Regions from separate parts of the Homo sapiens genome. Here all the other regions are linked to region 2. The links are contacts of gene promoters, found by promoter capture Hi-C in human tissues and cell types (Jung and others, 2019). All regions are on one chromosome and are shown on one strand. The core of a region is centred on a gene start or on the middle of the fragment in contact, and the rest is flanking DNA. Distances in the headings are between cores, read along the strand shown. Region 1 overlaps CUX1 (cut like homeobox 1). Region 2 holds the start of MYL10 (myosin light chain 10). Region 3 overlaps CUX1 (cut like homeobox 1). Region 4 overlaps CUX1 (cut like homeobox 1). Region 5 overlaps CUX1 (cut like homeobox 1). Region 6 overlaps CUX1 (cut like homeobox 1).

Region 1 (4,430 bases), core at 1,931-4,430, 290 kb before region 2:
TCGTTGGGATTAACGTTCCAGAGATCAAGAAATGTAGAGGCAAAAATACATCAGGGCAAAAATGACCAGTGACGGCCCCTGAGCCGCAGCTCGGCTCTCCTCCCAGAGCAACGGGGTCTGTTTTAGAGGAGACAAAAATTAACTGAGCAAAGTCCTGCAGACAGACACCCAAGAAGCGTTCTGGAGTAGGACTGGGCCGACTGACGTCACCAGGATGAGGGCTGGGGATGGTTTCATGATAAAATCACAGCATCTCAGGAATGTGGTTCTCCTCCTCTCTTTTCTCCCATCAGAGAAGGTTCCTCCCATATTGAAAAGAAGCAGAACAAAACCCAAAACCATCCCTGAGCTCTTTCTGGAAGCAAGCCTAACACAGACGACCATTTATTGGAGAGTTGAGCATCACATTCAAATAGCAGAGCCCTGAAGCCAGGCCGATGTCGCAGGAGCACTGGGGGTTTCTCCAGGGAGGACCCCACGCTGGGTTACCTGGTCTCCAAACTGTCCAGCCACTCTCCATCCACTAACTCCCTACAGCCAGGCCAGTGAGCCGGGGCTGCAGGTCAGACATGCTGCAGACCTCCCGTAACCTCGCCTCCAGAAGAACTCTGGAATCACACACGCGGGAAATCGGAGTTTGACCGCGATCAAAGCCATGGAAAAGCAAACGGCAAACGGAAAAGCTAAGAGACACTTTCTGGGGTTTGCGAGAGCTAGGCTTTCAGCCTCCACTGCTCACATACATGATTCTAACACCACCAGGCTTCCAGATAGCTGCTGCTGCTCCCTCCTGACATGCTGTGGCCAGCCCAGTGCAGAGGTGCTGCCCCTGCTGCCAGCCCGTGGAGCCCCTTGTCACATCAGGTGGCCTTGCTCCTTCACCCATCTCCCACTCCCCAGCACCCAGCCCAAGGCCAGGCACACCCTGTCCCTGCCCAGCGGTCAGGCCTTGGTACTCATCTGTCACCCACCCCAAAGCTCTAGAATCCCCCCTCCTCCCTCCTTCATCCCCTTCCACCCCAGGACACAAGGAGGAGAAGGAGAGTAGAGGTGACCCACTGGTTCTCCTGGAATGGTGAGCTGAAACTGGGACTATGGGCCCAGAGAACTGGTGTTCTAAACTAAGGCTGCATGGATGAGTGTCTGGGAGCCCCCCAGAAACTGCAAACGTGCATTTCCCAGGTGCGTAGGTCCTCAACTTTCATGGATATTTTAAAGGTTAAGAACCAAGGCTCAAAAAGCAGAACTGTTTATCTATAAAAAGGGTTACTGAGCCATATGTGGCTTATCCAGAGAACTTTATCACCACTGACATAAGAGTGTTTCTGTGGGGAAAGTCTACAGTCAGAAGATTCCAGTCATTCTATCCTAGCACTTAACACGCTCTGCCATTGGGTTCTATTTGCTTACTAAGAAAGATAAGAAACTTTTTAAAGAATGGAGATAGGGTTTTATTCCCAGGGCCAAACTGTCTGGCACATGGAAGGTGTTCAATAAATATTTGTAAGATGATTAATTGTTATTACAAACCAATTTTTTTTTTTTGAGACAGGATCTCACTTTGTTGCCCAGGCTGGAGTGCAGTGGTATGATCATGGCTCACTGCAGCCTCAACCTCCTGGGCTCAAGCCATCCTCCCACCTCGGCCTCCCAAGTAGCTGGGACTACAAGTGTACACCACCATCCTGGCTAATCTTTTGATTTTTTTGTAGAGATGGAATCTCACTATGTTGCCCAGGATGGTCTCAAACTCCTGGTCTGAAGCGATCCTCCCACCTCAGCCTCCCAAAGCACTGGGATTACAGGCGTAAGCCACTGTGTCTGGCCACAAACCAACTTTTGAAACACTTTAAGCTGAAACTACCTATATTTGTTGTTATTTTTTTTTTAAAGTTGCCCGAGCTAAGGCCGGGTGTGGTGACTCATGCCACTTGGCACTTCGGGAGGCCGAGGCGGGTGGATCACCTGAAGTCAGGAGTTCAAGACCAGCCTGGCCAACATGGTGGAACTCCGTCTCTACTAAAAATACAAAAAATTAGCCGGGCATGGTGACGGGTACGTGTAATTCCAGCTACTCAGAAGGCTAAGGCAAGACAATCACTTGAACCTGGGAGGTGGAGGTTGCAGTGAGCAGAGATGGCGCCACTGCAGTCCAGCCTGGGTATCAAGAGTGAAACTCCGCCTCATAAATAAGTAAATAAATAAATAAATAAATAAATAAAATAAAATAAAACATAGAAATTCCCCAAGCTAGCTCTGAGGAACAGAAATCCACTGTATCTCATGAGTTACACGGTGAGTATTCCCAGGTTAATGCTAATAACGAACATAAGCTAAACTCTAGGGACAGGCCTGTGCGCAGCCCTTCTCGTACAGGCACATGGGTACGTACACACACATATGTGCACACAGCAACCCTGCGAGCGGGGCCCTGTTGTTACATTATTTATAGATGACAGAACTGGGGCTTTGGGAGGTATCTGCCCCAAGACGCACAGCTACTAAGTATGTCGCCTTAAGTAAGAAATACAAAAATCAGAGCTGGGCGCAGTGGCTCACACCTGTAATCCCGACACTTTGGGAAGCCAAGGTGGGTGATTTAGCTTGAGCCCAGGAGTCTGACACCAGCCTGGGCAACAAAGTGAGACCCGGTCTCTTCAAAACATAAAATTAGCAGGGTGTGGTGGCACGCACCTATAGTCCCAGCTACTCTGGAGGCTATAAGGAGAGGATCGCCTGAGCTCAGGACATCGAGGCCACAGTAAGCTATGATTGTGCCACTATATTCCAAAAAAAACAAAAATATAGAAAGCAATATACCCTAGAAACACTCCACCGCCTATTATGTTCCACGATTGATTCTTAATTCAATAGGGAATGGATGTTCAGTTAGAACATTTAAAAATGTTTTTCTTTCAAAGGGACTCTTTTTGTAGATTCAAAGAAAACGTATACAATTTTATCTGCAGAGTAACTGCAATCTTCTGCAAATTAACTACAATTTCTGGATTAAAAAGACACAATATCATATGATGGCAAATATATTAATCTAATGATATAAAACTGAAACTTTAAAAAACTAATTCTAAACAGAAAACCTTCAACTGGGCGCAGTGGCTCGTGCCTGTAATCCTAGCACTTTGGGAGGCCAAAGTGGGAGGACCCTGCTTGAGCGCAGGAGTTTGAGACTAGCCTGGGCAACAGCAAAAGGCTCTGTTTCTACAGAAAATTTAAAAACTACGGCCAGGCGCGGTGGCTTACACCTGTAATCCCAGCATTTTGGGAGGCTGAGGCGGGTGGATCACAAGGTCAGGAGTTCAAGACCAGCCTGGGCAACATGGTGAAACCTCACCTCTACTAAAAATACAAAAAAATTAGCTGGGTGTGGTGGCGCATGCCTGTAATCCCAGCTACTCGGGAGGCTGAGGCAGAAGAACTGCTTGAACACAGAAGGTGGAAGTTGCAGTGAGCCAAGATCGTGCTACTGCACTCCAGCCTGGGCAACAGAGCAAGACACTTGAAGAAAAAAAAAAAAACACATAAAAATAAAATAAAATAAAATATACTAGCCAGGCACTGTGGTGCCACGTTCCTGTAATCCCAGCTACTCGGGACACTGAGACGGAGGGATCACTTGAGCCCAGGAGTTGGAGGCTGTAGTGAGCTGTGATCGTGCCGCTGCGCTCCAGCCTGGGTGACAGAGCAGGATCCTGTCCCCAGAAAAACCCTTCAAGGCTCCAGCCATCCTGGCGCTCACCTCCTGATGTTCCTGTGGCTTCTCCCGCCTGTCAGAGTCCCAGCCACCACACAGCACCCCTCCCTGGCCACCTCCCCGTCACAGCCCACCTTTTCCCTCCTGGACTAGAGCTTTTCCCAGTGACATCTGGGAAGGGCCAGTCTAGAAGGTGAAATCTCCGATGGCAGACAAACTTTACTCCCCACTGAACCCTCGCGGGTGCCTAATCCTCCCTGTGGAACACATTAGACATTCATCAGACACCAGGAAACCTTTCCTTCTTTCCCAGAACAAAGAGAGACGTGGGCGTTTCCATCAAGATCAACACCCTTGGTGTCACACCAGCAGGAACACCACCAGCCCTGGCTCTGCCACGCTGTGCCCTGGAAGGTATGTTGCCATGGGGATCGTGGGCTGCATCCATAGGGAAGAGGATACCCTCCTCCCGGTAAGCCAGGCTGTCCTACCCAACGGGCGAAAGCTCTAAGCAAGCCTCGTTTCTACACATGCAACAACCCGACGTCACCTCCACGGTTAGTAATCAATCCTGCGGTGTGGCCAGAGGAGCAACCAGTGTCAGGGCAGTGGTGGCTCCTCAAGACTGAGACCCCAAACAAACGGTGACCCAGTGTCCCCTTGGGACACAGGCCAGGCACTGAGCTGAGGCTCCACACATGTGCTATCTACACACACA
Region 2 (4,835 bases), core at 802-3,301:
TGGCCCTGGCCCTGTGGTCAGTTGAGTCAAACAGTGTGACCCAGCCACGACAACTGACTCATTGCAGTGTCACCTGGGTGAGGGGGCTGCAGCTTGGAGAGGCTGCAAGTTCTGTCAAGGACTCCATCTACACAGGGGGAAAGGGGGACAGGGGAAGGCTCTGCCCTCCAAACCCCAGGCCGATGACCCCAAAGCCCACCTCCTTCCAATGGCACTAAGCTTCCCGATGGCAGCCTCAAGGGGTCCTGGCTGCTGGCACCATTTCTCAGATGGGGAAAACTGAGGGTCCCACTGTGGGTGCAGAACTCACGGCTCCCCCTTCTCAAGGCCACTGCACCCTCACACTTCCCGCCCCCCAGGAACAAACATCTCCCAACCATCTCACCCCGGGGTTTTCACGTCTCTACCAGATTTCTCACCGGTTCTTCCTGCCTCCGGTCCTATGAAGGAGGAGGCCAGGGGAGGAAATCCACTCAGACTAATTTGTAAGCCCGGTGTGATTCACCAGCGCCGCTTCCCCTCCTCCGGGCAGGCGGGGGGGCTCTCCGCTTGCTCAGGCCTGTCCCCGGCCTTTGGGAGCCCCTGCCACGGTCCTGGGCGTGCTCCCCGGAGGCAAGAGCCCTTGCTTGCAGAGGCCTCAGGGCAGCAGGAAGCCAGAGGCAGGAAGCAGGAGTTATAGGTCTGCTACCCACTCTGTAAGCCCAGAGCCAGGAGGCCCCAGGGCCAGGCTCACAGACCGGGCATGGAAAGCCTGCACCCTAGCCACTGTCGCGGTCACACAGGCCCCCTTCTGTAGCAGGTCCAGGCGGCTGGGACTGGAATCCAGGCTCCCGTCCCCAGAGCTGGGTTCTCCTTTCCGCCTGGCTTGTTGAACACCTGTGGAACGTGTGGTTTTTCTCCCCGGAGAGGAACGCCAGGACACCAGGAGAGCAGCCCTGTCGGGGAAACTGAGGCACACGGTTTCCTGCTGCAGAAAGCGGGCTGCACAGCATCATGGCTGGACCTGGCCCCAGCTCTGGGAGGAGCACTCAGTCACAGGAGTTTAGGGACATCAGAAATAGCTGTAGTCAGGGATGACTGGGAGGGAGCAGGAGGAGGGGAGAGTTTGGATGAGCAGAACCTTTTGGAAGCTTCCTTCTGGAAACACTAGAAAGAGGGGCTCTTGTCCTGGCCCTCCCTCTCTCTCTCTCTTTTTTTTTTTTTTTTTTTTTGTTTTAGAAATGAGACCTTGATCTGTTGTCCAGGCTGGAGTGCAGTGGTGCAATCACAGCTCATTGAAGCCTCAACCTCCTGGGCTCATGTGATCCTCCCACCTCAGCCTCCTAAGTAGCTGGGCCTGCAGGCATGTGCCACTGATACAGGAGGGGGGACAGGGAAGTGCTGAGAGGAGAAAGGCAGGGTCCCTGGCAAGGGCTCCACCCTTGGGCCTGTGCCCACGGACCTAGGTGAGGACAGGCACTCCTGTTTATATGCCCAAATGTCACATTTTCCAAGACCACCCTGGCCCACCACGCCCCCCGCCCCCCCGCCCATCCTGTGCCTATGAAAACCCTGAGACCCCAGTGGGTACACACACAGGTGGCTGGACATCAAGAGGAGCAGAGGATCGGAAGAGCACACCGACAGCACTGGCAGATGCTGGCAGGCCATCGACTGGCTGAATAACACAAATGCCCAGGGGAATTTGGCTGGGGATGGTCAGAGGAGAGTCTGGCTGCTGAGCACCTTGACTTCAGGGGAAAAATCACCTTCCCACTCCATCCCCCTTCTGGCTCCCCATCATCTGCTGAGAGCTACTTCCACCACTCAATAAAACCTCGCACTCATTCTCCAAGCCCACATGTGATTCAATTTTCACAGTACACCAAGGCAAGAACCCCAGGATACAAAAAGCCCTTTGTCCTTGCAATAAGGCAGAGGGTCTAACTGAGCTGATGAACACAAGCCACCTACAGATGGCAAAAGTAAAAGAGCATCCTGTAACACACGCCCACTGGGGCTTCAGGAGCTGTAAGCATCCACCCCTAGACACTGCCGTGGGGTCGGAGCCCCATAGCCTGCCTGTCTGCATGGTCCGCCTAGAGGTTTGAGCAGCTGGGCATGGAAGAAGCGAGCCACACCCCCATCGCATGCCCTATGAACGGGATAAGGGAACTTTTTCACTTCACCACTATGCCTGACTAATTTTTTAATTAAAAAAAATTTTTTTGTAGAAACAGAGTTTCACCATGTTGCTTAGGCTGGTCTCAAACTCCTGGCCTCAAGTGATCCTCCCTCCTCGGCCTCCCAAAGTGCTGGGATTACAGGTATGAGCCACTGTGCCTGGCCTCTGGCCCCACTTCTTATCTGCCTTGGGTGAGTGACTTAACCCATGCGTGCCTCAGTTTCCTCATCTGGAAAATGGGATATGGATTGAATGTGAGGACACGTGTTTTAAGACATGGCCTGACCTTCTGTGTTGTATATTAGCTGCTCTTCTTATTATTATTATGATATTCCCTTCCCCAAAGGCAGGGGATCAGCTGTACCCGGGGCTGAAGGCCTGAGGCCAGCTCCAGGGACAGTTAAGCTCTCCAGCCCCTGGGGACCCGTGGGCTCACTGCCTGAACCCAGCACTGCCGGCCCTGGCAGCTGTTCAGATATGGCGGGCCCCAGATGGACAGTGGCAGCCTCTGAGGCCGAGCTGGGGCTGCTGGGGCTGCACTAGACACAGGAGGGGCTTTCCAGGGCAGGTGTGGGCTCTGTTTGGCAGATCTACTAGAGAATTCTTGGGCTGGGCCAGGCCTGGTGGGGATGGATGTGTGTGTGTGAGGCCAGGGTGGAATGGAGGTCTCATTTTTCAGTTCTTCCTCATCAGAGTCACCTCCAGTTTTCTGTTTTCTTTTTTTTAAGAGACAATATCTCACTCTGTCGCCCAGGCTGGAGTGCAGTGGCACAATCATAGATCACTGCAGCCTCAAACTCCTGGACTCAAGCAATCCTCCTGCCTCAGCCTCCTGAGTAGGTGGGACTACAAGAGCACACCACCATGCTCGGCTAATTTTTTTGATATTTTGTAGAGATAGGGGTCTCACTATGTTGCCCAGGCTGGTCTTGAACTCCTGGCCTGAAGCGATCCTTCCCTCTTGGCCTCCGAAAGCTCTGGGATTACAGGCGTGAGCCACTGCGCCCACCCCATTTTTCTTTTATTTGTCCTGTTGCTTTCTCTGTTCATTGAGCATTTCAGTGCCCTGAGGGGGTCCCCTGGCCTGGGGGTGCTTAATGGACACCCTGATAATAGGCATATTGGTAGAAGGGGCCCCCGAGGGCCAGGTTGGTGCAGAAACTCTCTCCATAAGCAGACCGGGGGTTTCATACACTCCCCCCTATTCCTATGAGATGGCTGAGCCTCCTAGAGGGTGATGTCCCACCCAGAGTCCCACAGCTCCAGAGGTCCGGCCACACTGCAGTCTGAGTGGGTCCCAGCCAGCATGGGTGGCCCCACCCTGGGCAACACTCCCTGACGGCTCAAGGCCAAGTCTTCCCATTGGGGTAGGCAGCCTCAACTTACTCTGTGTCCTTGGCCAAATGCCCCTTCCTGGGTCTTGGTCCCTTGGCTCTAGAGAAAACAGTTGGCCCAGGGCTCTCGGAGATCCTGGAGGCTTAGGCAGTCCCTGCGTCCGTGGTATTTGCCCACGGATTCCCCCCAACCCTATCCACTCTGAATGGCCCAAGGCAGGTGCCTGGCAGGGAGGTCTCCGTCCTGTCATGGATCACCTTCCACACTGGGCCCGGTGCATGCCAGGGGCCCTGGGAGGACCACTATTTAAGGGCCATCTCTGAGCTATCCCCAGGCCAACTGCAGCTTCAGGGAGCTCTCCAGACCATGGTAGGCTGGGGTTGTTCTGCTCTGCCACGGCTACCTTCCTCTCACCTCCACCTCCTCCCTGGGGAGCTCAGGCCTGTGGCTGTTGTGTCTTTGGCTTCAGCACTGCGGTCCCCTCCCTCCCACCCCTGCCCCTGCCCCTGCCCCTGCCCCTGACCTCACTCCGCAATTCCTTTTCTTTTTTAGACAGAATCTCACTCTGTTGCCCAGGTTGGAGTGCGGTGGCTCGATCTCGGCTCACTGCAACCTCCACCTCCTGGCTTCGAGTGAGGTTCCTGTCTCAGCCTCCCGAGTAACTGGGATTACAGGCGCCCGCCACCACACATGGCTATTTTTTTTTTTTTGTATTTTTGGTAGAGACGGGGTTTCACCATGTTGTCCAGGTTGGTCTCGAACTCCTGACCTCAAGTGATTCACCCGCTTCGGCCTCCCAGAGTGCTGGGATTACAGGCGTGAGCCACAGCGCCCGGCCTCATTTCTCAACTTTGACCTTGTTCTGTGACCTTGACTCTGTGTGTGATTCTGACCTTCACCTCCTGCCTGAATTCATCCTGCCTCTCACTGACCTTCCTGACCTTAATCTGATGTTGTCCCTGGTCTGACCTGCTCTTTGCTCTTGATCCCATGCTTGGACCTGCCCCACTCGGGACTCCTCTCCACGTGGGTCCTGATTTGAGCCTCTGCTTTCCTGGACTTTGTGGGGACTGCTGGGGAATGAGGAAGAGGAGGGTGGAGAGAGACGAGGTGGGCAGGGCCTGGGGGCTTCACAGGGGCAGTGGCTCTGAGGGCAGGGGCCCCCTGGGAGGGCCGGGGGTCAGTATTTGGGGCAGCGTGGCACCTCTGGAGCTCCGAGGTCCCCCTGTTCACCTTTGCCTGTGCACCTCATGTGACGCAGGGCTTGCTCTGGGTTCCTGCCCCTGGGGACTCCCTGCGGGGTATCAATCTGGCTGTCCCTCTGTGCCTGTGTCTC
Region 3 (4,490 bases), core at 1,668-4,167, 380 kb before region 2:
GCAGTACCTTCAAAGAGTCCAGTCAGAGAGGACGCTGGGAAAAGTAGAGTGACTAGTCTATCTTCTGCTTTCATTATCATATTCCCCCATGTGACAAGTACAAAATCTTCAGCTACAACCTTTAAAAGCTACTGAAGGCCAGGCACAGTGGCTCACGCTTATAATCCTAGCACTTTGGGAGGCCAAGCCAGGTGCATGACTTGAGGTCATGAGTTCGAGACCAGCCTGGCCTACATGGTGAAACCCCGTTTCTACTAAAAATACAAAAATTAGCCAGGCATGGTGGCACGCACCTATAGTCCCAGCTACTTGGGAGGCTGAGACATGAGAATTGCTTCAACCCGGGAGGCGGAGGTTGCAGTGAGCCGAGATCGCACCACTGTACTCCAGCCTGGGCAACAGAGTGAGACCCCATCTCTTAAAGAAAAATTCTAAATAAATAAAATACATTTTTTTAAAAAAGCAAATCCTGTGAAATCAACAATATGGCAGACTATGTTTAAAACCTAATTGGGTGAAATTATTTTAGAATACCCTTTCAAAGAGTCCTTTCTGTAGTCCAAAATTATCTGAAATAAATAAATAAATTCAAGCGTCAACCAGCATGGCCAACATGGTGAAACCCCGTCTCTACTAAAAATACAAAAATTAGCCAGGTGTGGTGATGGGCGCCTGTAATCCTAGCTACTTGGGAGGCTGAGGTTGGAGAATCACTTGAACCCAGGGACCAGCGATCACACCATTGCACTCCAGCCTGGGTGACAAGACCGAAATTCCGTCTCAAAATAAAAAAATAAATTCAAGTGTCTAAGTAAGATAATAAAAATCCTCTCACCCTGCTGCCGAAAATGAGAGGGGTGTACCTCCGTGTCCTGCCCTGGTTAGGTACCGACTCCACCGGGTAGTTCTCCCACCCACAGGGAGTTCACCAAAAAAGGCAGAAGGCCAGGCGCGGTGGCTCATGTCTGTAATCTCAGCACTTTGGGAGGCCAAGGTGGGCAGGTCACCTGAGGTCAGGAGTTCAAGACCAGCCTGGCCAACACGGTGAAACCCGTCTCTACTAAAAACACAAAATTAGCTGGGCATGGTGGCGCACACCTGTAATCCCAGCTACTTGGGAGGCTGAGGCAGGAGAATCACTTGAACCTGGGAGGAAAAATAAATAAATAAGCAAGCAAGCAAGCAGAAGAGACCATGTTTGTCTCCAAAATCCCATCACCAGCGTATGAGAATAGCAAAACTGAAGAGAAACGCATTGGTGGTCTCGGGGAAGGGGCTGTAGGGGCTGAGCAGCTCCTGCCAGGCAGAGGATCACAAAATCCAAACGTGTCCTCCGAACGCCCACTGCGCTCTCAGTGCTGGGCTTGGCCACAATTTGGTGTGAATGCTTCAAGACTCACACCAAATCCTTGGCATGAATACACCATACAATGATATATCCAGAGACGGCTTACTCGAACAAAGAGACCGTCAATAACAATATAATTTTACTTTTTTTTTTTATTTTTCTGAGATGGAGTTTTGCTCTTGTTGCCCAGGCTGGAGTGCAATGGCATGATCTTGGCTCACTGCAACCTCCGCCTCCCAGGTTCAAGTGATTCTCCTGCTTCAGCCTCCTGAGTAGCTGGGATTACAGGCATGTGCCACCATGCCTGGCTAATTTTTTGTATTTTTAGTAGAGATGGGGGTTTCTCCATGTTGGTCAGGCTGGTCTCACACTCTCGACCTCAGGTGATCCGCCCACCTCGGCCTCCCAATGTGCTGGGACTACAGGCATGAGCCACCACGCCTGGCCAATATAATTTTACTTTTATAAAATGATATCCATGCTTTCAGCTTAGACACAAAGCACAACCGGCATCTTTTAGCGTGGTCCTCACGCCCGCCGGCAGAACTCCTTCACTGAGTTTCCTCAATGTCTTTTAGACACCTCTTCATCCTATAAATGTGCCACACATGCATGTGACATGTCCCTATGCACACACATATTTACTTAAATACGCACACACACATACAAACGAGTAACAGACAATGTCATCTCTACTTCCTTCCCTTTCCCGGAAGCTACAGGTATGTACATCACATGTATGTTGCCTGATATGAAAGAGAGGCCCAATCACGAATTCCATGATACAGATTTAAGAGATGCTATGCATGGTTCACTTGGTGAATCTCCCTTTCTTATGTAAGCACATATCCAAGTCAGTTTTTTTTTTTTTTTTTTTTTGAGACAGAGTCTTCTTGTTCTGTTGCCCAGGCTGGAGTACAGTGGCGTGATCTCAGCTCACTGCAACCTCCACCTCTGGGTTCAAGTGATTCTCCTGCTTCAGCCTCCTGAGTAGCTGGGGCTACAGGCACTCACCACCATGCCTGGCTAATTTTTGTATTATTTAGTAGAGACGGGGTTTCACCATGTTGGCCAGGCTGGTCTCGAACTCCTGACCTCAGGTGATCTGCCCACCCCCGCCTCCGAAGTGCTGGGATTACAGGCATGAGCCACCGCACCCAGCTGCACCCTTGCTGTTTCATATCATGGAATCTAGCACCGGCAGCAAGGGAGGCCGCCCACCTCACTCTTTCTTTTTTAAGAAGTCCGCAGTTCTGAGAGGTCAGAGCAACCTTTCTTTCATTTTCAAGCTCCCCATGTGTGCTGGAGAGGCTGTCTTTATAGGTTTTAACATGTACCAACCAGGGATTAAGCTAAGTGAGGCACGCCAGTCACGAAGGCTCACTGAAATTATGCCTGCTAATCTTTTAAATGGCAAGAACGTTAGGCAGCACAAAAGGAATGTTAGTAATTCCAAAGCTTTTACCCAACTGAGGAGGTTTAAATTTACAGGAACATGTACTAGAGATAAAGAAGTCCAAGGCCCTTGGCCAACCTGTCTGCCACGCTGGTGTGCAGAAGAACAGAAGATTCTGTAAGGAGAGAGAAGGGGTGGAGGCTGGAAGATGGGCAGAGGGCCAGGGTTTAAGACCTGGCGTGGGCCTGAACTCACCTGAATTATTTTACTTGTAGAAAGAGGCTACAGGTTGGGTGCAGTGGTTCATGCCTGGAATCTCAACACTTTGGGAGGCCAAGGCGGGAGGATCACTTGAGGTCAGGAGTTCGAGACCAGCCTGAGCAACATAGCAAGATCCCACCTCTAAAAGAGAAACTGGGTTCCCTGGTCTGGACTGAGCAATTTCTTTGGCCTTCTTAGAAATGAGCCGCTCTGCAGCCCCACGCAGCCTTTCTTCAGTGTGTACATTAGGGTGCTGTGCGGCCTAGGTGAGGGGTGTCACCTGGCCACATCCGTGGAGGGATCCTAACACCATCATTTGTGCGGTCAGCGTCATGACAGCCACTCCACTGTGCTTGCTTCTAGATGCTTCCAAACAGCCCTTCAGGTATGGAATCATCCCTGTCGTGTAAATAGGAAATCTGGAATTCCCAGAGGTTATACATTGCACCTGAGGCCATCTGGCTACAATCCAAACTCTGGGTGCGGCTGGCGCCAAAGCTACTACACCATGCTGCCTTCTAAGCTGCATTTCATCTGGAACCGCTGTGGCTGGCAGGCCGAGCCTCTGAACACTGCAATTCAGGTTAATCATGCAGACCTGCTGGAGCACGCGGGGCCGAGGGTTCCCTGTACCTCCCTTCTCTCCCCTGCTGTATGGATCTCTGACCTCACTACTGGCAGGCCTGAACTGCCATGAGTGATCAAGAACCTGAGAGGCCTCTGATCTGCTCCACCTACATCTGTGCCCACCAGGAAAAACAAAAATCCTGATAAAAGACCTGGGGTGCGCATCAGGATTCACCATGACTGTGCTGTGGTCTCGCCTCCTGAAAAGCTATTTTGTTCATCGTAAGTAGGCAGTTTGACAATTGCTCAATGTTCAGGCCCTACCCCATGTCCTGTCCTAGTCAAGGTCAGGGAAGGAAAGGTGCCTTGTCCCCAGGCATGTGGGCCCCCAGCAGAGCAGGACAGGCTGGGGACCTGGGGTTCTTAGGCTCTTTTGGTTGGGGGCTGAACACTGGTCATATCCCAATCTCTAGAGAGGGCAGAGGAGGACAGACACGCACTCTGCACCTCAGGGATTACACGAGGAGAATAAAGACACGCACACGACCGAAATACCAGGCAGGAAATGAAATGTGCCGAAAGACAGGCGCAGCTAGCCTACAACGGGGGCCCAAGGAATGAAAATCCCTCTTTGCTGGGCTGGGGGCACCTGAATTGGGTGATATTTGCCACAGAGGGGCGAGTAGAGGTGGGGGGGCTTTCTAGAAAGAGACAAGATACAAACAGAAGGAAAAAAGAGGAGATCCAGAGATACAAACAAGGTGAAGCTGATGGAGTAAGACATGGGAGAGGGGGCCAGCGGGGACAGGCTCCCAGATCACCGAAGCCCCTAGAAGAACCCAGACATGGCCTGAGAGGCGGGTGGACGGCCACCAACCATGCAAAAGGTAGTACGCAGAGACCAGACCAGGGTCTGCT
Region 4 (4,670 bases), core at 2,021-4,520, 360 kb before region 2:
CCCACACCGAGCGTGTACGGACAGACTTTGAGTGTCTTCTATCAGGCGGGTTCCTGCTCCAGGCCCACCTTGTCCATGAGGCTAACCCAGGGCTGACCTTAGCATGTGCCCACTCTTCTGTACACCCAGAATCCAAGGGGTGGGAAGGACGGGGGTAGGAGCAGGAAATAAGTGTGTGGCCCAGCTGGAGGAGATGGTGTTGGGGTCAGAACACCTGTACCACCTTCAAAATTCCCCCAAACTCCCTGCAAAAGCCCCGGTGAGAATCTCACCAGTCTCAGCTTCCATCCAATGACAGGGCTGAGCTCTCCACCTCCATGGTGTCTTCGAGCTCTTAAATGCCAGGGCCTTACATTAAAATTCACACCAGAGCACAGTGAAGCAACAGAACGCTCCACTCGGGTTTGAATTTGGGCTCCGGGACCTTCCATGGGGGCTTACAGACTTTCCTAACATTTCCCATCTGAGAAATCCAGGGATTATTAACCTACCCCAGCAGGATGCTAGAGGCTGAGATGAAATCACGGCTGGCCAGTGCGGCACGCCGAGCCTCGGCACACGGTCAGCCACGCCTGCTATTTCGATTGTTATCACTGGTCGGCGCAGACATCGTTCCAGGCGAGGTGCCATTGGGGACACGTGGAACCAGATACCACCTGAGGTCTCCGGTTCTGCAGCTGGGTGGAGGACGGAGGCCTGCATGCTACAGAGTCGGGCAGGATGAGGTGACGTCGGTGCTGGGGGAATAGGAAGGAAGGGGGCTGAGGGCTGGGAAGGTTCATGGAGGGGCAGGCCCCTGAGCCGAGCCTTGGAGGAGGAGCAGAATCTGATGGAATGAGGAAGCCTTGCTTCCAGTAGGAAATCTGAGTGTCCTTCCCCTACAAATATTATTATTATTATTATTATTTTTTTTTTGAGACAGGATCTCACCCTGTTTCCCAGGCTGGAATGGCACGATTATAGCTTACTGCAGCCTCAACCTCCAGGACTGAAGCAATCCTCCTGCCTTGGCCTTCCGAGTAGCTGGGACCACAGGTGCATGCCACCACACTTGGCTAAATTTTATTTTTTTGTAGAGATGGAATCTCATTATGCTGCCGAGGCTGGCTCAAACTCCTGGCCTCAAGCAATCCTCCTGTCTTGGCCTCCCAAAGTGCTGAGATAACAGGTATGAACCACCGCGCCCAGCCCCTGGTATCCCGACGCAGGACTCTGTCGCAAGGAACCTGGGAGGCCACATCAAGGTATGGAGGCCTCTTTCCAAATGCCTGGAAAGCTGGAAGATCCCTGAGGACAATGGTGACAGGAGAGGCGAGGACATACCCCAGAGAAGGCAGAGGTGGAAAGGCAGCCCAGGGCTGTGGAATCGGACCTGGAGGGAAAGGAGGAGCAGGGAGACACACAGGAGAGCCTGGGGACACAGATCTGTGGCAGGAGGTGAAGAGGAAGAGCTGGCGCAGAAGCACCCGAGAGGCCCACAGCCCATGAAGTGTTTTCAGGAGAGTTAAGACCCACCATGGAGTGGGCGCCACAGTTAAGCCTGGAGGTTTTGCAGCCAGGAGGGGTTCTGTCTGGGTTTCTTGCCTCCCACCCCAGCCTCCAAAGTGGGTTGACACCAGCTCTGAGCTGTCAGCTGCAGACACTTATCAGACACCGGGGCTGACTCACGGAGAACAGCTTCTTCTTCTTTTTTTTTTTGAAACAGATTCTCGCTCTGTTGCCCAGGCTGGAGTGCAGTGCGTGATCTCAGCTCACTGCAACCTCTGCCTCCCGGGTTCAAGTGATTCTCCTGCCTCAGTCTCCCAAGTAGCTGGGATTACAGGCATGCGCCACCACGCCCAGCTAATTTTTCTATTTTTAGTAGAGACGAGGTTTCCCCATGTTGGCCAGGCTGGTCTCGAACTCCTGACCTCAAGTGATCCACCTGCCTCGGCCTCCCAAAGTGCTGAGATTACAGGCATGAGCCAGCAGCCCAGCCTGAAAAAACGCTTCTTACACCAACAGAGTCAGCTTTCTCTGAACTTGGCTGTTTTTGTCAAGAGTTCGTTTAGACTTTCTTCTAGGATGAAAAATCATGTGTATTTGTTTTACATCTAAGTAAGGAGTAATATGGAGTCAGACCAATTCCATTCATTTGCCGTTTCCTGTAAGATCAGCACTCTGATGTCCCTGGTGCAGTCCTCCCTCGGATGACCAAGGGCCCTCAGGCACGTGCCCTGCGCCAGGACACCGCAGCGGCCGGGAAAGGCAATGTCCCCGCCCTTGCTTCTAATGTGGAAGACAGAAGATGGAGAACAGGCGGTGAGTCAGCAGGCTTATAAGGGACCCCGGGGGTATCCCCTGTCCCACGGAGTCACCGGGGTCAAGGTTCCCCCAATAGTCAACTCATCAAATGTCTTTTGAATAAAAAAGAAATTCAAAAACTTTGAAACATGACCCTAGTCTGAAACAGACTTCAAAGCAAGCAGTGCTCCAGGACTCACCATTTCTTCCGCTTGAACCTATGAGAAGCTGAGTCACTGTCGCCAACCCATTACCGTGGAAGTATCTGAGCCGTGAGTGAGCAGCGGTCCATATGCACCCCTTTCCCGTAGCTTGGGGAGTTCCACATTAGGACAAGAGGAGCGCCTCTGTTTACCGTCGTGGCTCACGCACGGACTTCTGTGCAAGCATTTGCCCCACACTCATTCATCGATGATGTGCTGGGCACTGTGTCGGGATGCGGGAGTGAATCGAAAGCAAACAGATGACTGCAACTCTACCCATGGGCTACCCATGCAGGTGCCTCATTCCAAGACGGACGAGGTCAGAGCTCCAGGTGGCAAGGCCTGAGCTGAGGCACAGGGAGGGAGGAAGCACGGTGGGACAGGGGTGGCAGGAGCAGACTGGGGCACAGGAGGAGCCCAGAGAGGTGGCCCTGGTGTTCCAGGGAGGTGAGCGAGGCAGGAGCACAGGCTAGGACCACATCCCCACGGCTTCCAGGGCAGGAGCTGGCTTGTCCTTCAGGCCACAGGGAGCCACTGAAGGACCCTGCAGCAGGGCCCTGACAGCATCAGCTCTGAGTTGGAGAAGGAACATTCTAGAGCTCTACAGTCTCACATTACAGAGGAGAAAGACTCTGCTCTGGTAGGGTCCGGAGTTGGGCCCTGGTCTCCTTATGCCAACTCAATGGTCCTTACGGTCCATTTCCTCTCGTCTCCAAACCACCACCAGTTAACACTTGGTTCTGTGCGAGAGCTGGAAGACAAGCCGAGGGAGGGCATGCCTCCAGGCAGCAGAGCCCACGGGAAAAGGGCTCAGAGCTCATCCCCATTCCTTTACAGAGGCTCTGTCACTCACCAACACAGCGATGGGCCTGGGGAGCCTGCAACCCTCATCCTCCTTGGGAAGATTAAGTAAAAGGACACAGTGCCGCCTGTAATAGGCATTCAGGAAGGGCTGCCAGCTCTCTCTTAAGTGAGTCATGAGACGAACAGGTTTCTTATTCAATTAACTGAGAGCTCATTTCTGTAACATTTTCTTTCCTTATGGAAAAGAGCCTTGTATTCTAAATAAATACATATCTTGAAAACAAGCTCTTGGGTCACAGCCCAAAAAAGGAAAAACACTAAATTCCACACTCCTCTTAGGGGAGACAGACCTACTGATCTCACCGATGAAATGTGACAAAAATATGAAGATCCGACCCCAGTGCCTCGTTACCAATTCCATCTCTTGTTGTTAACACTTGTGCAAAATTACACCTTAAAACCAGGACCGGTTTCTATCTGTAAGCGTTCCTGAATTGTCTGTGAGGGGCTCTTTACAGTGGTGTTAAATTTCACCAGCTTAACAACTCCAGGCTTCTGACAGACAGATCTGGGGCAGCCCAGGTCCCCGCAGTCAGAAGCGGCAGGTCTCAAAGGCCAACAAAACAGAGACACTCTGGAAGGGTTCCTGTTTCAGGTACCTTGCTGCCATTGAAGCTGCGTTCCTTTAAAACCTTCTGGAAAGTAAATTTCTGCAACCTTAATGCACTGCCTGTCTAAAGAACCCCTGTGGGAACTCCCTCTGAAAAACAAGGAAGCTTTTGTAACGTCAAGAATCACACCACATCAATCTGCTTTGTAATTTTCGTTACACCATTACCTGGCAGACACTGACACCATACCCGGCACTGGGCTCAGTGTTGTGTTAGAGGGATGGTTTTACTGAATCCTCAAAACAGGGTGGTGGCTTTTGCTCTTATGCACATTTTACAGATGAGGAAACTGAGATGTGGGAATTTGGGAAACTTCCCCCAAAGTGGCCCAGCCACCTGGCTCCGGAGTCCAAGCTCTTAACCTCTCCACTGCAGGGCAACTGCAAAAATCTGGCAACAAGTCTCCACGGCATTCTCCTGGTTGTTCTAGGAAGATGTGGAGTTTGCAGCACGGCATGGTGTCAAACAGCCACATGCACAGCAGTCCTGCAGGCACTACCTTGCAGCTGCCACCATGATCGTGGACAGAACGCTCCTCTTGGCCCCAGGTACTGACACCATGCCAGGCTAGCTACATTTCCCCAGTTTCCCTGAACCCCCAGGGCCTGTCTGTGTCTCCCCCACAGGGCAGGAAACCCCTTCCTCCAGAGGCTGATCTCCCCGCACGACCCCCCTCTCCCGTCTGCAGAGCAGCTCAGAACCAAAGGTG
Region 5 (4,803 bases), core at 1,416-3,915, 320 kb before region 2:
GAGACTCTGTCTCAAAGAAAAAAAAAGGAAGAAAAAGAAAAAAAAAAAAAGCAAGCACTCTGCCTTAGCCACAGTAAATGATCACAGTGAAATCCAATCAGAGATGAGGAGATTAAATAATGACCAATGTTTGGCTGGGTGCGGTGGCTTATACCTGTAATCCCGGCATTTTGGGAGGCCTAGGCGGGCGGATCACGAGGTCAGGAGATCGAGACTATCCTGGCTAACACGGTGAAACCCGTCTCTACTGAAAATACAAAAAATTAGCCAGGCGTGGTGGCGGGCGCCTGTAGTCCCAGCTACTCGGGAGGCTGAGGCAGGAGAATGGCGTGAACCCAGGAGGTGGAGCTTGCAGTGAGCTGAGATCGCACTACTGCACTCCAGCCTGGGCGACAGAGTGAGACTCTGTCTCAAAATAATAATAATAATAATAATGACCAATGTTTGTCAAACAATCTGTGGGAGAAGAACACACAACAGATTTTTACATTTCCAGCCCATTGTGGACTCAGATCTTTATAAAATAAAATTAAAATGCCACTTGGATGTCACCGTCACGTTAAATTGCTATGAACATTTCTAGACACCTACTCTGAACTTCTGTGCTTATCTTGTTGCAGACCAGTGATGGGCAGGGTCCTGGGCCATACTCAGACACACTTGCAGGGGCACAGTGGCCTGGCATGGTGCCTCCTGAGATTTCTCTGCTGAAAAGAGAACAAAATGTACAACCCAATCAGGCCAGCCAGTCCCAAGCTCAGGGACTCAGGCAGGTGATTCCTCAGGGACAGGACTCTGGAAAACGGAGGACCTCAATGGGGTGCTCCTGTACCAGGGCGGGTTGAAGGTCAGCAAATGTCAGAGAAGAGAGACTCTGTGATGCCCCCCCAGCAGAGCCACCAACCAGTAGCCCCTGGCTAATTTGGCTCTTACAACAAAGTAGGGCTTGAGGGGATCCAGATACAGAGGCCCAGACTCAAGGGAACTCGGAGACCCAGAGGGACAGAGACACTTCTCCATCTTTATAAAGAAATCAGACAACTTGAACACTGGAAATCTACAAAGCAGGCAACGTTCCAAGGCTAGCCCTTATTTTAAAGGCTCGACTTTATTATAAAATCCCGAGGCACCACGTTCCCCTATGAAAAGCCAATTCCTAAAGTGGATCTAGGGCACAGAGGGAATGGATTCTCACTCCATCAGAGCAGACAGTTTTCCGCTTAAGAGATGTAATTGCAAATCATTTTAGAAAACCCTCAACAACTAATTGTCGTGATAATGCCAAGTTTACGGAGCCCAAATAATGGACAAATATCACCACGTAATAGAATAGGACAAAAATGGTAATTTTACTATGGAAAGTTGGAACTTGCCATTTCAAATTAGCAGAAGCTGTGAAGTGGGCATTACTGACAATGTGAATATAGTAATTGGGGCTGATTTCTTGGCGCCTGGCCGAATCTGGCTGCCTGGCGTCCTGTGAGTTAATTATAGCTCTGTTAACAGAGCGGGGGCAGGGAACTCGGCAGTGACGCAGAGATAAAACTCAGCCCAGGTCTCTGCAGATGAGGCAAAATGTGAGTGTTTTGGCTGGAGATCAGGTGCAACAGAAATTAGTCCCAATTAATTCCGTAAGCAATAGTCCTCAGGAAATACAGACATGGATGGCTAGGGTCAACAATTCCTGGGAGCTGAACTTTCTGAAGGTGTCCTTGCTAACTCAAAATTGGTCTTCATCCTTTCCACATTGCCAGTGGAATGGCTAAGTAAGTCATTTTTGTCTACATCCAAAAATATTTCATTTACTGCTTTAAAAGATTCCTTTTAAAAAAATCCCAGGAATCAAAATATGTGATTCTGTCCAAATTAGCTCTCTCCACAGACTGAGACAATTATTTCACTGTGGGCTTTTTTGGAAATAAATCTTTCTTTTCTTTAATTTTAGAGACTGTATTGTGCACTTTGAGATTTAAGATGGAATTCATTTCATCCCCATGTCTAAGTTGTTGCCTGTCTAATACGTTGGCATGCCCCGTGCTGGGGCACCAGTTTCTTTAAGAAACTGATGAAGGTGTGTGCGGGATTAACTTATGGTTGGATATGGGGTAAATATTTAAGCTCGGGCTCGGGCCTAGAATAGTGAGGTGGTTTTTTCGGTTTTTGTTTTTTTGAGACGGAGTCTCGCTCTTGCTCAGGCTGGAGTGCAGTGGCATGATCACGGCTCACTGCAGCCTCGAGCTCCTGGGTGCAAGCAATCCTCCTGCCTCAGCCTCCCAAGTGGCTGAGACTACAGGCACATGTCACCACACTTGGCTAATTCTTTAATTTTTTGTCAAGACAGGGTCTCACTCACTATGTTGCCAAGGCCGGTCTCCCAACTCCTGGGCTCAAGGGATCCTCCCGCCTCAGCCTCCTAAAGTGCTGGGATTGCAAGTGTGAGCCACCACGCCTGGCCATTTTACAATGAAGTTACTCAAGTTTTAAATCTGTCATCAAAACATTTAAAATAAAAGTTCTTGGGACCTACTTCCACTCTCCCACCCAAATCGGCTTTGTCCCCTCCCAGCTGAAACCCTGGGTGACACATCCCGGGCCTTCTGTGGCTCCTCTCCCTGTGCACTGTTTTCTCACCGCCGAGCTCACGGAGAGACTGGTTCAGGGGTGCCACCTCCTTGGTCTCACTTAACATTGTCCCCTGAGCCCTCCCCAGCAGCAGCATGGGTTGAGCATCAATACTGGAGTCTGCTGAACTGAGTATGAATTCTCTGAGCAAGTCTATGCCTCCTGTGGCTTTCATCTTTTGTAAAATTAAGACAGCAAGGCCTACCTCTGATGACCACGGGGAACTCATCTGAAAGGCTTAGCAGTGAGTGATCTTTCCTTCCTCTGCCCCCCTCCACCAGCTCCTGGCCTCACTCCCCACCCCAAATCCAACCCAACATTTGCCAGCTGCAAGCTTCACCGCCACTGACCCTCCTGCTGGAAACCCTTCTCTCTTTTTTTTTTTTTTTTTTTTTGAGACGGAGTCTCGCTCTTGTCACACAGACTTGAGTGCAGTGGCACGATCCTGGCTCACTGCAACCTCCACCTCCCAGGTTCAAGTGATTCTCCTGCCTCAGCCTCCCAAGTAGCTGGAATTACAGACGCACACCACCACGCTGGGCTAATTTTTGTATTTTTAGTAGAGACAGGGTTTCACCACGTTGGCCAGGTTGGTCTCAAAATGAACTCCTGACCTCAGGTGATCCACATGCCTTGGCCTGCCAAAGTGCTGGGATTACAGGCGTGAGCCATCGAGCCCAGCAAACCCTTCTCTTCCTAAGCGCAATCTTCCCTCCTGCTGGAAACCCTTCTCTTCCTGACCCGGGTCCAGAGAAAGCTGCCGTCTGACCCACCTGTCGCTCCAAGACTGGTTTTGGTTCTTCTACTCTGTCTGTCCACACATCACACTAGAGAATGCCATCACCTCCTCAGTCCCTGACTGCTGGTTTCCTCTGGGGCCTTCCATCCTCCACCCTTCCAAATCCACAATTCTACCTTGACCTCTCTCCAGGTGCCGCCCTCCTGACCACAGAACCACTCATTGGAAGTGCATAGAACTCATTCTTTAAATAAGCAAATGCCTTGTCTTGACTCCTAAACCAAGCCCTGTGCCTCTGGTGTCCCCGGCCTTGGCTGACACAGCTAGAACTCTTCCTGCCACTCAGACCCATAGGTGGAGGGAAGGGAAGGTGATACAGGCTCATCAGAACCACGTTCCTGAGCACAGGAGGTTTGGGACAGCAGACACGTCTGGCTCCCTGAACCTAGCGGACTAGAACCCCCAACTCCTCCCTCTTGGCCTGCAGCCCTGCATGCAGAATCCTGTAGATCTTGTCCCTACTCCTCTTGCCATCCAGGTCTTCCCCACAGTCCCCACAGCCCTGACCAGGACCTGCATTGGGCTCTCAGGATGTCCCACTGGGTACTCAACTCTCGTTCAGAACATCAGCTCCACGAGGCCAGGACTATGACCTGCCTCCCCGGCACCTGGGACCGTGCCCAGCATAATGAGAACACTCGATACACAAGGCATTTCCATGAGTCCTTGTGCAACTGTAAATAACAATAAATTAACTCCCAGGTATAAATTACAAAATGCAACAGCGAGGAAATGTACTCGCAATTTAAATAAAAGTATTAGTGACTTTTAATTTATTTTATTTTCCTGGCAAGAAACTCTACATTCTGTGGAGTGGTTTCGGTGGTGGTGTGCTTTGTGTCTAAATGACAGTGGAGGTGTCGAAAGCAAGTGTATCCTGTAGCTGAAGGTGCAGAGCCGGAGCCTGCCTGGGTGGAAGCCGCTGCACACAGGCCCTCATGGCTCTGCCCTGAGGTCGCTCTGCCCTGTCTGCAAAAGACCTCATCCACCCCTGACTCCCAGCACGCACCTAGCACCTGCCCCGCAGGCTTGGTAACCAGTGGGTGACTGTGTGTGGAAGGAGTCCCAGAGTGGGCTTGGGAGGTGGGGTGGCACCCTGGGGTGACAATTTCTGGGAAAGTGCAATGCTGTCTTATTTTCTCACTCTCGTGGCATTTGGTGTTAACTCTGGGTATTGGAAGAAGCAGCTTCATCCCCAGGCTAAATTGCAACACCTTGCTTCAGAAAAGAGGCCCTCTCATTTCATACCAAGTGGGGTCAACCCGGCAGCAGTGATGTGCAACACGGCCTGCACCAGTGTGGCGACAGATGCAACCTGGGTGTGCCCACCTGCTCCCTGGGTGGCCCGAGGTGACCGCTGCAGGTCTGCAGCATCCTCCAGG
Region 6 (4,718 bases), core at 1,028-3,527, 400 kb before region 2:
TAGCTGCTCCTGCCACACACATGAAAAAGAGTAACTAAGGGAGACGATGCATATGTTAATTTGCTTCCCCGTATAACCATTTTACTGTCTGTATGTATCCCATAGCATCATGTTGTATACCTTAAGTATACATAATAAAATTTATTTATAAATTAGCGGAGGCTTGATAAATATTAATTAATGGTGCCAAAAAATTACCTTTCTTTTGTGGGTTCAAAATCTATGATAATTTTATGTATTTATTTATGATTAGCTTTCATATGGCCTTTAAAAAAAAATAGGCAAATGGAAGCTTAGCCTAGATGTTTCTTGGGTATTTCAAATTTAAGGTATCAGGAATCAAACCCATTATCCTACTGAGAATGTGGGCTAATCTACAAGATAATTTGCTAAGACTCTTCAAAAAAGCAAACAAACAAACAAACAAAAAAATCAGGCCAGGCGCGGTGGCTCATGCCTGTAATCCCAGCACTCACTCTGGGAGGCTGAGGCAGGCAGATCACTTGAGGTCAGGAGTTTGAGACCAGCCTGATCAACATGGTGAAATCCCATCTCTACTAAAAATACAAAAATTAGCTGGGCGAGGTGGTGCATGCCTGTAATCCCAGCTACTTGGGAGGCTGAGGCAGAAGAATTGCTTGAACCTGGGAGGTGGAGGTTGTGGTGAGCTGAGATTGTGCCACTTCATCCCAGCCTGGGGGACAGAGCAAGACCCTGTCTAGAAAAAATAAAAATAAAAAGAAATGAAGGTGATGGAGATGGAGAGGATGTCCTACATTAAAAGAGATAATGCAGGGGCCGGGTACAGTGGCTCATGTCTGTAATCAAGGCACTCTGGGAAGCCAAGGTGGGAGGATGGCTTGAGCCCGGGATGTCGATACAAGCCTGGGCAATGTATTGAAACCTCGTCTCTACTAAAAATAAAAATAAATTAGCCGGATGTGGTGGTGCACATGTATAGTCCCAGCTATCTGGCGGTGGGGGCAGGGGAGTGCTAAGGCAAGAAGATTGCTGAGCCCAGGAGGTGGAGGCTGCAGTGAACCATGATGGCACCACTGCACTGCAGCCTGGGTTACCGAGCGAGACCCTGTCTCAAAAAAAAAAAACACTTTTTAAAATAGAAAATTAGATAGACAGATTTCCAAATGTAATGTGTGAACCTGACTGGACCTCAGTTGCGAGGAGGGCCGTTATAAAAGACATCTTGGGGATAATTGGAAAAATTTGATTTTGGATCAAATATGAGATGACCTGGAATTACTGTGAATTTTCCCAGGTGTGATATTTGTGGTTATTGTGGTAATGTAGGAGAATGCTAATAATTCCTTAACTTCGGGAGCCTTCCACGTGTGTTTGAGGGACACAGTGCCTGCTTCTGCAACTTACTTCTGAATGTTCAGCAAAAGTGGTGGGCGGGGAGGGGAGGGGGGAGGTACATGGGGTGAAATGTTAGCAACTGTGGATCTGGGTAAAGAGCATATAGGTGGGCCGGGCGCAGTGGCTCACGCCTGTAATCCCAGCACTTTGGGAGGTCGAAGCGGGCGGATCACCTGAGGTCAGGAATGAGAGACCAGCCTGACCAGTATGATGAAACCCCGTCTCTACTAAAAATACAAAACTCAGCTGAGCGTGGTGGCACATGCCTGTAATCCCAGCTACTTGGGAGGCTGAGGCAGGAGAATTGCTTAAATCCAGGAGGCGGAGGTTGCAGCGAGCTGAGATTGTGCCATTGCACTCCAGCCTGGGCAACAAGAGTGAAAATCTGTCTCAAAAAAAAAAAAAAGCATACAGGTATTCACTGTACTAATCTTTCCATTTTTACACAGCTTTGAAATTTTTCAATAAGAAAGAAAAACAAGCAAACACCTAGAAAGCACACTGAACTCTTTGAGCGAGAGAACTAGGAAGCCAGTGGGTCTCCCAAAAGCCGCTGGACAGGTAACAGAACAGGTAAGATCAAATGTGGGTAGGTGTCAGGTAACAGCCTCACTCATCAACTACGGGCTTGGAGATGAAGTTCTGAGAAAAAGACTGTTCAAGTCCATCCAAGCCCTGGGATGCAGGTGTCCTGCTGGCCGGACCAAGCTACGTGCATGGGGGCTGAATGAGGCAGGAAGAAGATCATAAGAAGAGAGGGGTACTGTTCTGCCCTCGAAAATTTCCAGCCATCACCAACTGCTGTGTCTTCTTTCTACGCTGGTCCCTTTTGATGTCCTGAAATCGCCTCTCTGTCTTTGGCTACAATCGCCCTGGCCTCCTTCATTCACTCACTCCCTGCTCTCGCTCCCAGTTGATGAATTTCCCAAATGGAAGCCCGACAACTTGCTCTAGAGCTCTGGGACCAGGAACCCAGCCTTCCATATATAAGGCCCACATCACCTGTGTCCCAAGAGGAACCTACTGTATCTCACGGCCATATCTCTCCTGTATCTCACGGCCATATCTCTCCTGTCCCTTCCCCCATGTGTTCCCTGTGACTTAGCAGTTGCAAGAAAATAAAATCCCTGCCAGGCACAGTGGCTCACATCTGTAATCCCAGCACTTTGGGAGGTCAAAGCAGGTGGATCACCTGAGGTCAGGAGATCGAGACCAGCCTGGCCAACATGGTGAAACTGCATCTCTACTAAAAATAGAGAAATTAGCTGGGTGTGGTGGTGCACACCTGCAATCTCATTTGCTGGGGAGGCTGAGACAGGAGAATCACTTGAACCTGGGAGACGGAGGTTGCAGTGAGACTAGATTGCACCACTGGACTGTAGCCTGAGTGACAGGGCAAGACTCTGTCGCCAAAAAAAAAAAAAAAAAAAAATCCCTAAGACTGTACCAATATGGGCTCTTTCAGGGGCTTTGGAAATGTCTCGTTTCCTTTCCTTATCAGCCTGCTATGATTCCACTTTCTGTTTTTCCGTCGGGAGAAGCTAAAGAGGTGAGATTCAATAAATCCGCAAGAATAATATAATTTCTGGTTTTCTAAACATCACTGAATCTTCACACAAAGGGCTGGCAAAGAGTGTCACTCACGTGGAGCCCAGTCCCCTCTATGGCTGCTGTTCCCGCTAACAGGTAGCCAGGGCGGATGTCCCAGGTGACTTGCCACCCACGTGCCGTCTGCCAGATGGCTCCGTCCTTCTCTGGAAGGATCCGTTAGAAACCACTTCCTTCTACTGAGCCTAGGCTTGCTCCTCGTGGCTTCTGCTAGATGCTCTGTGTTTCAAGCCTGTGATCAAGTGGCCTCCCTGTGCCCCCGCCAGCCTCTCAGCAAAGCACCACACTTATGGCACACACTCATGGCAGTGGCAGCCCCAGACCAGCTCAGGGGGACAAGGCGACTTCCTAGAGGGGATGCATGGGCTCCTGAAGGCCGTAGCGCCAACAACCTGCCTGTTGCAACCACACACGGGGCACTTCTGCTGGCAATCCACCACAGCTCTGTGTATTCTGAGCATAGCTTCCTTTTCCAGGAGGGCTTTCACCAAGGACCCAATGGAAAATCACATCACAGAGCGCAAAATCTGCATGACGCTGGGTCGGAGCAGCCGGGAAGGCACCATCTGGGCAGCACCTTTTGCCCGGAGCATTTCTTTAATGTGAATAAAAAGACCAATTAGCCACGAAGGGTGGCTCAGGATAGAAAATGAATAGAAAAGCTTACCTCTCCTTGGAAACTCTTCAGCAGCGGCGCTACCTGCTTGCGCAAATCCTGGAGCAGGAGGCGGAGGTCAGGAAGCAGCCATTTGAGAAGGAGAAAGAAGGGAAACATTGGTTAAGGCCTCCTAAAAACAGCGTGGCAGTCAGTGCTAATTATCACTATCTAAAGCAAGCCTGGGACCTCACCCATTCCTGCACTCCTAAAACATCAATAACGCCAACTGGCGCTTCAGGATTTAAACTTATTTAAGAATACAACGAGGTGGTTCTTTGTTGTTCTTGTTGTTGAAGACAGAGTCTCATTCTGTTGACCAGGCTGGAGCACAGTGGCACAACCCTGGCTCACTGCAACCTCTGCCTCCTGGGCTAGAGTCATCCTCCCACCTCAGCCTACCAAGTAGCTGAGACTACAGGCGTACGCCACCATGCCTGGTTAATTTTTGTATTTTTTTGTAGAGACAGGGTTTCATCATGTCGTCCAGGCGAGGGTCAAACTCCTGGGCTTAAGAGATGTGCCCACCCTAGCATCCCAAAGTGCTGGGATTACAGGTGTGAGCCACCGCACCTGGCCTACAACGATGTTTTATTTCTACTAACTCCTGGTCACATATACCTCATTTTGAATGTGCTACAGACTAAAGCTTTTGCTGATGTCAGTCTAAGTGAGATAATCTGCTTAGAATAAAATAGACTAGAATGGGGGGTTTGCCTGGCTGTTTCTATCTGAAATGGACCTGGGCCACTGCACTGTATTTTAGCTGCCTCTTCTTTTTTTTTGAGATGGAGTCTCGCTCTGTCGCCTAATCTGGAGTGCAGTGGCAAGATCTCAGCTCACTGCAACCTCTGCCTTCTGGGTTTGAGTGATTCTCTCACCTCAGCCTCCCGAGTAAGTGGGACTACAGGCGCCCGGCTAATGTTTGTATTTGTAGTAGAGATGGGTTTTTGCCATGTTGGCCAAGGTGGTCTGGAACTCCTAATCTCAGGTGATCCGCCCACCTTCATCTCCCAAAGTGCTGGGATTACAGGCATGAGCCACCATGGCCGGCCCTAGCTGCCATTTTAATGCACTG

What was found. Contacts are between HindIII fragments. The study calls those that stand out against the background at their distance.
Region 1: a contact is called between a fragment that was not itself captured here and the fragment with the promoter of MYL10 in region 2, in 2 of the 25 tissues and cell types used here (IMR-90 fibroblasts and spleen).
Region 3: a contact is called between a fragment that was not itself captured here and the fragment with the promoter of MYL10 in region 2, in 2 of the 25 tissues and cell types used here (heart right ventricle and spleen).
Region 4: a fragment that was not itself captured here is called in contact with the fragment with the promoter of MYL10 in region 2 in 2 of the 25 tissues and cell types used here (heart left ventricle and mesendoderm cells).
Region 5: a contact is called between a fragment that was not itself captured here and the fragment with the promoter of MYL10 in region 2, in 2 of the 25 tissues and cell types used here (H1 embryonic stem cells and dorsolateral prefrontal cortex).
Region 6: a contact is called between a fragment that was not itself captured here and the fragment with the promoter of MYL10 in region 2, in 2 of the 25 tissues and cell types used here (dorsolateral prefrontal cortex and mesenchymal stem cells).

The regions. Positions count from the first base shown.
Region 1 is chr7:101,919,233-101,923,662 of GRCh38, reverse strand. All of the region lies in intron 2 of CUX1 (cut like homeobox 1), which reads right to left. Among named protein-coding and RNA genes, the nearest start is that of CUX1, 100 kb to the right of the region's middle. The HindIII fragment of the contact is 7,119 bases long and covers 1-4,430 here.
Region 2 is chr7:101,626,512-101,631,346 of GRCh38, reverse strand. MYL10 (myosin light chain 10) reads left to right here and starts at 2,051. Exons shown (of 8, transcript NM_138403.5): 1 at 2,051-2,306. The coding sequence starts at 2,229. The HindIII fragment of the contact is 21,528 bases long and covers 676-4,835 here.
Region 3 is chr7:102,008,134-102,012,623 of GRCh38, reverse strand. The region is part of intron 2 of CUX1 (cut like homeobox 1); the gene reads right to left. Among named protein-coding and RNA genes, the nearest start is that of CUX1, 190 kb to the right of the region's middle. The HindIII fragment of the contact is 3,917 bases long and covers 959-4,490 here.
Region 4 is chr7:101,985,239-101,989,908 of GRCh38, reverse strand. All of the region lies in intron 2 of CUX1 (cut like homeobox 1), which reads right to left. Among named protein-coding and RNA genes, the nearest start is that of CUX1, 170 kb to the right of the region's middle. RefSeq lists enhancers at 222-271, 167-976, 1,766-2,965, 4,468-4,627, 3,952-4,670 and a silencer at 1,526-1,820. The HindIII fragment of the contact is 3,801 bases long and covers 1,370-4,670 here.
Region 5 is chr7:101,944,759-101,949,561 of GRCh38, reverse strand. All of the region lies in intron 2 of CUX1 (cut like homeobox 1), which reads right to left. Among named protein-coding and RNA genes, the nearest start is that of CUX1, 130 kb to the right of the region's middle. The HindIII fragment of the contact is 9,788 bases long and covers 1-4,803 here.
Region 6 is chr7:102,027,080-102,031,797 of GRCh38, reverse strand. It overlaps CUX1 (cut like homeobox 1), which reads right to left. Exons shown (of 24, transcript NM_181552.4): 3 at 3,653-3,700. Among named protein-coding and RNA genes, the nearest start is that of CUX1, 210 kb to the right of the region's middle. RefSeq lists an enhancer at 1,088-1,137. The HindIII fragment of the contact is 5,342 bases long and covers 1-4,718 here.